Regions from separate parts of the Homo sapiens genome. Here regions 1 and 2 are each linked to region 3. Evidence: promoter capture Hi-C in human tissues and cell types (Jung and others, 2019). All regions are on one chromosome and are shown on one strand. The core of a region is centred on a gene start or on the middle of the fragment in contact, and the rest is flanking DNA. Distances in the headings are between cores, read along the strand shown. Region 1 overlaps LOC112268076 (translation initiation factor IF-2-like). Region 2 has its middle 18 kb from the start of KMT5B. Region 3 holds the start of NDUFS8 (NADH:ubiquinone oxidoreductase core subunit S8).

What was found. The method cuts DNA at HindIII sites, captures the fragments that hold promoters and counts their contacts. A contact is called where the count stands out against the background at its distance.
Region 1: a contact is called between a fragment that was not itself captured here and the fragment with the promoter of NDUFS8 in region 3, in 2 of the 25 tissues and cell types used here (H1 embryonic stem cells and pancreas).
Region 2: a fragment that was not itself captured here is called in contact with the fragment with the promoter of NDUFS8 in region 3 in 2 of the 25 tissues and cell types used here (bladder and dorsolateral prefrontal cortex).

What each region holds. Positions count from the first base shown.
Region 1 is chr11:67,849,348-67,852,208 of GRCh38, forward strand. All of the region lies in intron 3 of LOC112268076 (translation initiation factor IF-2-like), which reads right to left. It also overlaps the pseudogene ENPP7P7. Among named protein-coding and RNA genes, the nearest start is that of LINC02754, 34 kb to the right of the region's middle. The HindIII fragment of the contact is 3,083 bases long and covers 67-2,861 here.
Region 2 is chr11:68,229,544-68,232,467 of GRCh38, forward strand. No RefSeq gene overlaps it. Among named protein-coding and RNA genes, the nearest start is that of KMT5B, 18 kb to the left of the region's middle. The HindIII fragment of the contact is 3,922 bases long and covers 1-2,924 here.
Region 3 is chr11:68,029,413-68,032,112 of GRCh38, forward strand. NDUFS8 (NADH:ubiquinone oxidoreductase core subunit S8) reads left to right here and starts at 1,269. Exons shown (of 7, transcript NM_002496.4): 1 at 1,269-1,321. GLTC1 (glycolysis associated regulator of LDHA post-transcriptional modification 1) reads right to left here and starts at 1,022. Exons shown (of 4, transcript NR_197583.1): 1 at 881-1,022; 2 at 1-8. RefSeq lists enhancers at 1,010-1,304, 1,296-1,475. The HindIII fragment of the contact is 8,880 bases long and covers 1-2,700 here.

The sequences.
Region 1 (2,861 bases), core at 358-2,857, 180 kb before region 3:
ACCGCATATCTTGCACATCTCTCTCCTTGTGGGTTGATGAAGCTGCTCCCAGCCACGTATAGTTCCCAGTCTACTGATGCCTAAGGCTGGTCCTGGAGGTTAGGTCTGCTAGAGTCAACTGAGTCCAACACTTCTACACAGTCATGCTCGACAGGGCTCTCTGATACTGGGAGCAAGGTAGCGGGGTTCAGGGTGTTACAAACTTCAATGGTTATATGGGGATTTTCACAGAGCAAACTTTAGTACTTAGTGAGTCTAGCATTCATTAGCCAATGATGTCCTTTAGTATTCATTAAAGTCACCACAGCATGGGAGGCCTTTATGTTCAGGTTTTGTCCAAGAGTCAGCTTATCTGCTTCTTGTACTAGCAGGGCAGTTGCTGCCAAGGCCCTCAAACATGGGGGCCATCCTTTAGAAACCCCGTCTAGTTGTTTAGAGAGGTAGGCCACCGGCCTCGGCCAGGGCCCCACAGTTTGGGTTAAAACTCCAACTGCCATCTTTTCTCTCTCTGACACATACAATGGAAAAGGCTTTGTTAGATCGGGTAGCTTCAGGGCTGGGGCTGACATAAGTTTTTCCTTTAACTCATGAAAGGCTTGCTGTTGCTGGGATCCCCATTCAAAACGTTCCCGCCCCACCCCTTTGTGACCTCATACAAAGGCTTGGCTTATACTGCAAAGTTTGGGATCTACAGTCTGCAAAACCCCACAGCCCATAGGAATTCTCTCACCTGCCTTCTGGTCTTAGGCTCCAGTAGATTTCAAATGACCTGCTTTCTTTCTGATCCTAGGCTGCTCTCCCCCTTTCGGATAGTAAATCCTAAGTAATGTACCTGCTGTCAGCAGATCTAAGCTTTTTTCTTGGACATCTTATACCCACAGTCCTCCAGATGCCGGAGTAGGGCATCTGTTTCTTTGGTGCACCCGACTGCCGTGGGGTGTCCCAGCAAAAGATCATCAACGTACTGGAGCAAAATGCAGTCTAGGTCTCTGGTGGGAAACCTCTGGAGGTCTCGAGGCAATGCCTCCCCAAAGATGGTGGGGGAGTTCTTGAACCCTTGGGGAAGCCCGGTCCAAGTGTACTGAGTAGTGACACCTGACTCCGGATCTTCCCAGATCCGGAAGTCAAACAGAGAAAGGCAAACAGCTTCTGTCTCTCAGGGGCTAATCTGATGCTAAAGAAAGCATCTTTCAGGTCCAAGCAGGTGAAGCAGCTGTCCTCAGCTGGCAGCAACCCCAGCAATGTGTACGGGTTAGGTACTGCTGGATGTAAAGTCACTGCAGCCTGATTAACCAAGCGCAAATCCTGTACCGGCCAGTAGTCCTTGATCTTAGGCTTGGGAACAGGCAAGAGGGGAGTGTTCCATGAAGACTGACAAGAAACTCTAATTCCAAAACTTCTTAGGTGCTTGAGATGGACCTGGATACCTTCAAGAGCTTCTCTGGGGACCGGATCCTGTTTTTGCCTAACTGGCTGGGCCCTAGGCTTAACTTCTATAAGTACGGGGGCTTGGTTGACTGCAAACCCTGGAGGGTTGTCTTCCACCCACACTCTTGGCCACCGCTTAGCCAGAGCCGGTCTTATCTCTTGGCCCCACTCAGTTAAGAAAAGTCTCCATTCTTCCTCTCGGGGGACCGTAAGGGTCATAATGACTCCTGTTCTGGGTGACTTTAGCAGCAAAGAGCCATGCTCTGTAAAAGAGATAGTGGCTCTCAGTTTGCTAAGCAAGTCCCTTCCCAACAAGCGCAAGGGACAGTCAGGTGTGTACAAACACTGATGAATCACTTTATGTCCTCCTACAGCACAAGTCCGAGGCAAGCAGAAAGCTTGCTTTGCTGAAACTCCCATGGCTCTGATGATGTTAATAATCTTTTTGGATAAGGGGGCGACCGGGGTGGTTACTACCGAATGTCCAGCACCGCTATCTACAAGAAAATCAATGTCTTTACCCCAAACTGTCATCCTGACCATAGGCTCTTTGGGGGTCCTTGAGCCCAGTCCCCCTCAGTCCAATAACCCTTCTGCCAGGTTGAGCAGGGCCCCTTCATCCTTGTCTGGGGCCTCCTGCTCTGAGTCACCTGGTTTTCTTTTTAGCTGAGGGCATTTGTTTTTCCAATGTCCTATTTCTTTACAATAAGCACACTGATTACGCTGCAAGCTCTGACAGCCAGGCTGAGTTTCCTTCCCGGGGCCCCCTTTCCCTTGCCTCTTTGGGGGGACCCCTCTGATTGCTGCCGCTAACAGGTCGGTGTTTCGCTGGGCCTGACGTTCATTGTCTCTGTGGTTTTCCTTACGGCTTACTGCATCCCTGTTTACAAACGCCTGGTTAGCTATTTGTAATAACTCTGATGTGTTCATCCCTGCAAACTCAGCCTGTTGCTGCAGTTTTCTTCTAATGTCTTCTGCACTTTGAGTAACTAAAGCCGTGTTAATCATGCGTTGATTTTCAGGGCTATCGGGATCAAAGGGAGTATACATACCATAGGCCTTACACAGTCTCTCCTACAATTGTGCTGGACTTTCTTCTTTTCTCTGAATGACCTCAGAGACTTTGTTAACATTTGTGGCCTTCTGGGCTCCCCTCTTTAATCCTTCCAAGAGAGCTTCCCAGTCTCTGTTTAGCCTTTGCATATCCTCTCTTTCATGTGGGTCCCACTGGGGGTCAGTTCTTGGTAACTGGGTCCTTACATACTCTTGGGGGTTTTGGTAATCAGCTGGTGCATGTTCCTCTAGCCACTCAGTTGCTGCTTGGAGCACTCTCCCCCTTTCATCCGTGTTAAAGAGGAACATGAGTAACTGGTGGCAATCAGCCCAGGTGGGGTTATGGGTCTGGATAATAGTTTGGAGCAAATCAATCAGAG
Region 2 (2,924 bases), core at 282-2,781, 200 kb after region 3:
GTTTTTTTTTTTAATAGAAAAATGTTTGAATTTCTTCTCATTTTCTTCTGTGTATATTCTACAGCTATTTTCTTTGTTATTACAATGGGTATTACATTTAACATCTGTATTAGTCCATTCTCATGCTGCTAACAAAGACATACCCGAGACTGGGTAATTTATAAAGGAAAGAGGCTTAATTGACTCACACTTCACCATGGCTGGGGAGGCCTCAGGAAACTTACAGTCATGGGTGGAAGGGGAAGCAAACATGTCCTTCTTCACATGCCAACAGTAAGGAGAAGTGCTGAGCAAAAGGGGGAAAGTCCCCTTATAAAACCATCAGATCTCATGAGAACTCACTCACTATCATGAGAACAGCAACTTTGAGGTAATGACCCCCATGATTCAATTACTTTCCACCAGGCCCCTCCCATGACAAATGGGGATTGTAGGAACTACAATTCAAGATGATATTTGGGTGGGGACACAGCCAAACCATATCAACATCCTAAAGTTATAACACTCTGGTTTGAATTTATACCAGGTCAACTTCAGTATCGTATAAAAACTCTGCTCTTTTTACAGCTCCATCTCTTTTTCTTATGGTTGTTGATGTCATAAAATTATATCTTTAAACATTCTATGCCCCAAAACATAAACTGACAATGATTTTTAAAAAGTTAGTGTCTTAAATTATACAGCAAACAAAATGTGTAGTTACAAACCAGTTACAGTAATACTAGCGTTGGATTAGTTCTTGGTTTAACTAATCAATTAATTAATTTATTATTATACTGACTTTTAATTTATTTTATTTACTTATTTATTTATTTTGAGATGGAGTCTGTCTCACTCTTGTCACCCAGGCTGGAGTGCAGTGGCCCGATCTTGGCTCACAGAAACCTCCGCCTCCCAGGTTCAAGCGATTTTCCTGCCTTAGCCTCCCAAGTAGCTGGGATTACAGGCACCCACCACCATGCCTGGCTAATTTTTGTATTTTTAGTAGAGACAGGATTTTACCATGTTGGCCAGGCTGGTCTTGAACTCCTGACCTCAGATGATCTGCCTGCCTCGGCCTCCAAAAGTGCTGAGATTACAGATGTGAGCCACTGCACCCGGCCGATACTGATTGTTTTTTAAAGTGTAATAGTCTCTTAAATTCTGCAGAAAACCAAAAGTAGTTTTACAACCTACTGTTACAATAGTACTAGCTTTTATAATTGCACATATATTTGCCTCTATTGAGATCTTTACTTCTTCATACAGTTTCATGTTACTATCTAGTGTCCTTTCGTTTCACCTTCAGGACTCCCTTAAGCATATCTTGCAGAGCAGGTTTACTGGTTATGAACTTCTTGAGTTTTCTTCTTCGCTTTTTTTTTCTTTTTCTTTCTTCTTTTTGTTCAGAGACAGGGCCTCACTCTGTCACCCAGGATGGAGTACAGTAGCATGATCACAGTTCACTGCAACCTCAACCTCCTGGGCTCAAGCAATCCTCCTCCCTCAGCCTCCTGAGTAGCTAGGATTACAAACATGCATCACAACGCCTGACCTTTGATTTTGTAGAGATAGGGTCTCACTATGTTGCCCAGGCTGGTCTCAAAATCCTGGACTCAAGTGATCTTCCTGCCTTGTCCTCCAAAGTATTGGGATTATAGGTATGAGCTATTGTACCTGGCCCCTTTGGCTTTTCTTATATTTTTCTTTTATCTTCTTAAAAATATTATTTATGGGTTGGGTATGGTGGCTCATGCCTGTAATCCTAACACTCTGAGAGGCCAAAGTGGGCAGATTGCTTGAGCCCAGGAGTTGGAGACCACCCTGGACAACATGGAGAAACCCCACTCTACAAAAAAGAAAAAAAAAATTAGCTGGGCTTGGTGCATGTCTGTAGTCCCAGCTGTAGTCCTCAGGAGGCTGAGATGGGAGGATCACTTGAGCCCAGGAGGCTGAGGCTGTAGTGAGCTGTGATCATGCCGCTCCACTACAACCTGGGCGACACAGCAAGACCTTGTCTCAAAAAATTTTATATTATTGATTCCTTTCTTTTACAAACCCTTATCTTGAGGGCTGACTTTAAATAGATCACAGTGAGGGAGATACTCTGCTATGTACAAAATCCTGACCCAGAAGCAGGTTGTCTATGAATGGTTTAGTACCAGGTTCTCCGTGAATGTGCACTCCATGATGGGCCAGCGGGGACAGCCCATTTCTGGCCATACCCCATTTCACGGGTTGAGGAGTTCTCTGTACTGGACTCCGGTCCTGGCACCAGATGAGGCACTGGCAGCACGGTAAAGGACCAGCTATCTGAGGCCAACCAAGGCTCTGCAGTGCTATCATATCATTCTGCCTTCTGCCTGGGCGGAGTTTTGATTTAGAGGCATTCAGTCATAATCTCACGGATGGAAGCTTTGCTGCATTGGCTTTTCAGCCAAGCACATATTCTTCACTTTTGAAAGACAGTTTTATCCAATATAGGATTCTTGGTTGACAGGTTTTTTGTTTTTGTTTTTGTTTGTTTATTTTTTATTTTTTTGAGACCGAGTCTCACTCTGTCTCCAGGCTGGAGTGCAATGACATGATCTCAGCTCACTGCAACCTCTGCCTCCTGGGTTCAAGCGATTCTCCTGCCTCAGCCTCCTGGGTAGCTGGGATTACAGGTGCACACCACCAAGCCCTGCTAATTTTTGTATTTTTAGTAGATGGCATTTTGCCATGTTGGCCGGGATGGTCTCAATCTCTTGACCTCGTGATCTGCCCTCCTCAGCCTCCCAAAGTGCTGGGATTACAGGCGTGAGTCACCATGCCCGGCTGTTTTTTTTTTTCTTTTAATAGTTTGAAAATGTCTTGGGAGGCCGAGGCAGGCAGATCACAAGGTCAGGAGATTGAGACCATCCTGGCTAACATGGTGAAACCCCATCTCTACTAAAGATACAAAA
Region 3 (2,700 bases), core at 19-2,518:
GGAATCACCTGATGAAGGGCCAGGGTCAGGTGTGGGCCACCATCCCAAGACCTCCCTTCTCTCTAGGGCCAGCCCCTCTCCTCTGAGCACCTGCTGACCAGCCCAAAGCCCTCTCCACTCCTCAGCTTGAACTCCCCCAGGGTCTCCCTGTGGCCCACAGGTCCTTTGGAGGCTCGGGCATCTGCATGCAAATCCCAAACCACTGTCCCCTTTGCACACACTGAGCCTGCCCTTGTCCTCGTCCTGGTCTACCATGCGTGTCCTCCCTCTGCACGGGCATGGGACATGCCCTCTGCCTCCTTCCTGTCCTGGCCTGCCCAACTCCTACCTACCCTCAGCGCAGATCCTCCCAACACACACATGCAGGCAGCCTCGGGGCCTCTGCGGGTCCCTCTACCACAGCATTCCCGGGGAAAGGCCCGGCGTGGTGGCTCACGCCTGTAATCCCAGCACTTTGGCAGGCCGAGGCAGGAGGATCGCCTGAGTCCAGGAGTTCCAGACCAGCCTGGGCAACATGGCGAGACCCCGTCTCTACAAAAAATACAAAAATTAGCCGAGCCTGGTGGTGGCAGGCGACTGTGGTTCCAGCTGCTCGGGAGGCTGAGAAGTGAGGATCACCCGAGCCTGGGAGGTCGAGGCTGCAGTGAGCCGAGATCGCACCACTGCATTCCAGCCTGAGCCACAGAGCCAGATTGTCTCAAAAAAAGAAAAAAAAAAAAAAAAAAAAAAAAATTCGCTGGTAGGAAACATAGGCTGGTTGAGTACGGGAGTCATACAGATCAGGTGGATCAGGCGGCCGCACACCGCAGCTCTACGGCCCGGGAACGTTACTAAATACTCCCATGCCTCAGCTTCCCGCCTTAACGTGGTAACACGTTACTGTAGTTTCTCCACGCAGAGCTGCTGTGAGGATTAAAAGAGGCCGCGTGAGTTGAGCATCTCGTCGCCATTACCGTCATCACACGCCCCCCACCCAACCCGGCGGGCCCACCCTCTGCACCCACGGCGAAAGCACTCTTTCTAAACCACGCCCCGGATGTCCCGCCTCCAGCGGCTCGGAGGTCTTCACTTATTGGCCTCCCCAAACCAACATGGCGGCCCCCTACAAACTTCAAGCGCCGGTCTCTCCTAGCCAATCAAAAGAAAGATATTTCTGAATCCCGCCTCTTTCAGCAGCCTTGCTGGCCAATCAGACCACACCATGAAGCATCAATACAGAAAAGGGGGAACCCGCTGGCCCAATGGCAGCGTCCTACAGTGTAGCCTCCGCCTCCCGATTGACTGGCCTGCTTGGCAAGGCAAGTAGCGGCGGCGCTTCAAGGTGGGTGTTCACGTTTTGGCCGTGAAAGTCGGGCTTGGGCAGCGTGGCGTCGGGGGCGAGTGTGGTGTCCCCGTTGGCGCCGCCAGCTCTGCGCCTGGGCTTCCCCTCGGCTCACTCAGGATCCGCGGCCTCCGTGTCCTTCAGGTGCAGCGGGGAGCCGGCTCTCAGGGCGCATGCGCCGCCCGCTCTGCGCCACCGGCCTAGTTAGGGTCGGAGATCACTGGGAAGGTGGGGAAGGTGCTGGGTTGGGTCCCTGGAACTGCAGTCAGTGATCCAAAGGAGTGGGCCTGTTAGGGGGTTCACAGGTCGTGGGATGAGCTCTTATGAGCGCCGGCTAAGTGCCGGGCTCTGGGGTGCCCTTGGCATGTACGGGCTCCCCTAATTCCCAAGACCAACCGCCCCCAACCCACTTCATAGGTGAGAAGACGGAGGTCAGGTCACATCATCTGCCCAAGGTCACGCGGCAGGCTGGGGGACAGTTCCAGGAGGGCCTTGAAGCTGGGGAAAGGAATGTGGTACCGAGGACTGTTCAGGCCTTGAAGAGTTTCCAGCAGGGCAGGGCTGGGTTCCGATCCTCGGCCCACCTCCTTATCGTGTGACTTCCGACAAGTCACTTTTTTATCTTTTTTTTGAGACAAGGTCTCACTCTGTCGCCCAGGTTGGAGGGCAGTGGTGCAGTCTGGGCTCACTGCAACTTCTGCCTCCTGGGTTCAAGCGATTCTCCTACCTCAACCTCCCGAGTAGCTGGGATTATAAGTGCCCACCACCACACCTGGCTAATTTCTGTATTTTTTGGTAGGGACGGGGTTCCACCATGTTAGCCAGGCTGGTCTCAAACTCCTGACCTCAGGTGATCCACCTGCCTCAGCCTCCCAAAGTGCTGGGATTACAGGCGTGAGCCACCACACCCAGCCCTAGCGAGTCACTCAACAAACTGAGTCCCAGCGCCTTATTTGTGCCTCCCTCGTGGAGTCCTTGTAAGGATAGGATGGCAGCGCTTTCCACCCCTGGGCACGGTTCCTGGGGGAGGAGAGCTAACAAAGTTCGCTCTCAGTGCATGCTGGCGGGGGCTGGTAATGTTGTTTTTGGTTAGATTTGGGGAGGATGAAGGGAGGAGCAGAAAGGTGGGAAACAGGATCTCTGGGAGGGAGAAAGGAAGGATGGATTTAAAAGGTTTCTTAGGTGAGGCAGAACTTGGGGTCCACAGAAACTGAATTGTAGCTCAGCCAAGCTGAATCAGATGGAAAGCTGGGAGGCGCTGGGAACAGGAAAGCCATCTGTGCCTCTGACAGCAATGGGGTGCGAGTAGAGGGCAAAGTGACACATGTCAGTGGAGACTTGGGATCCTTGCGGTGCCAGTCTCAGAAGAGGATGGTTCT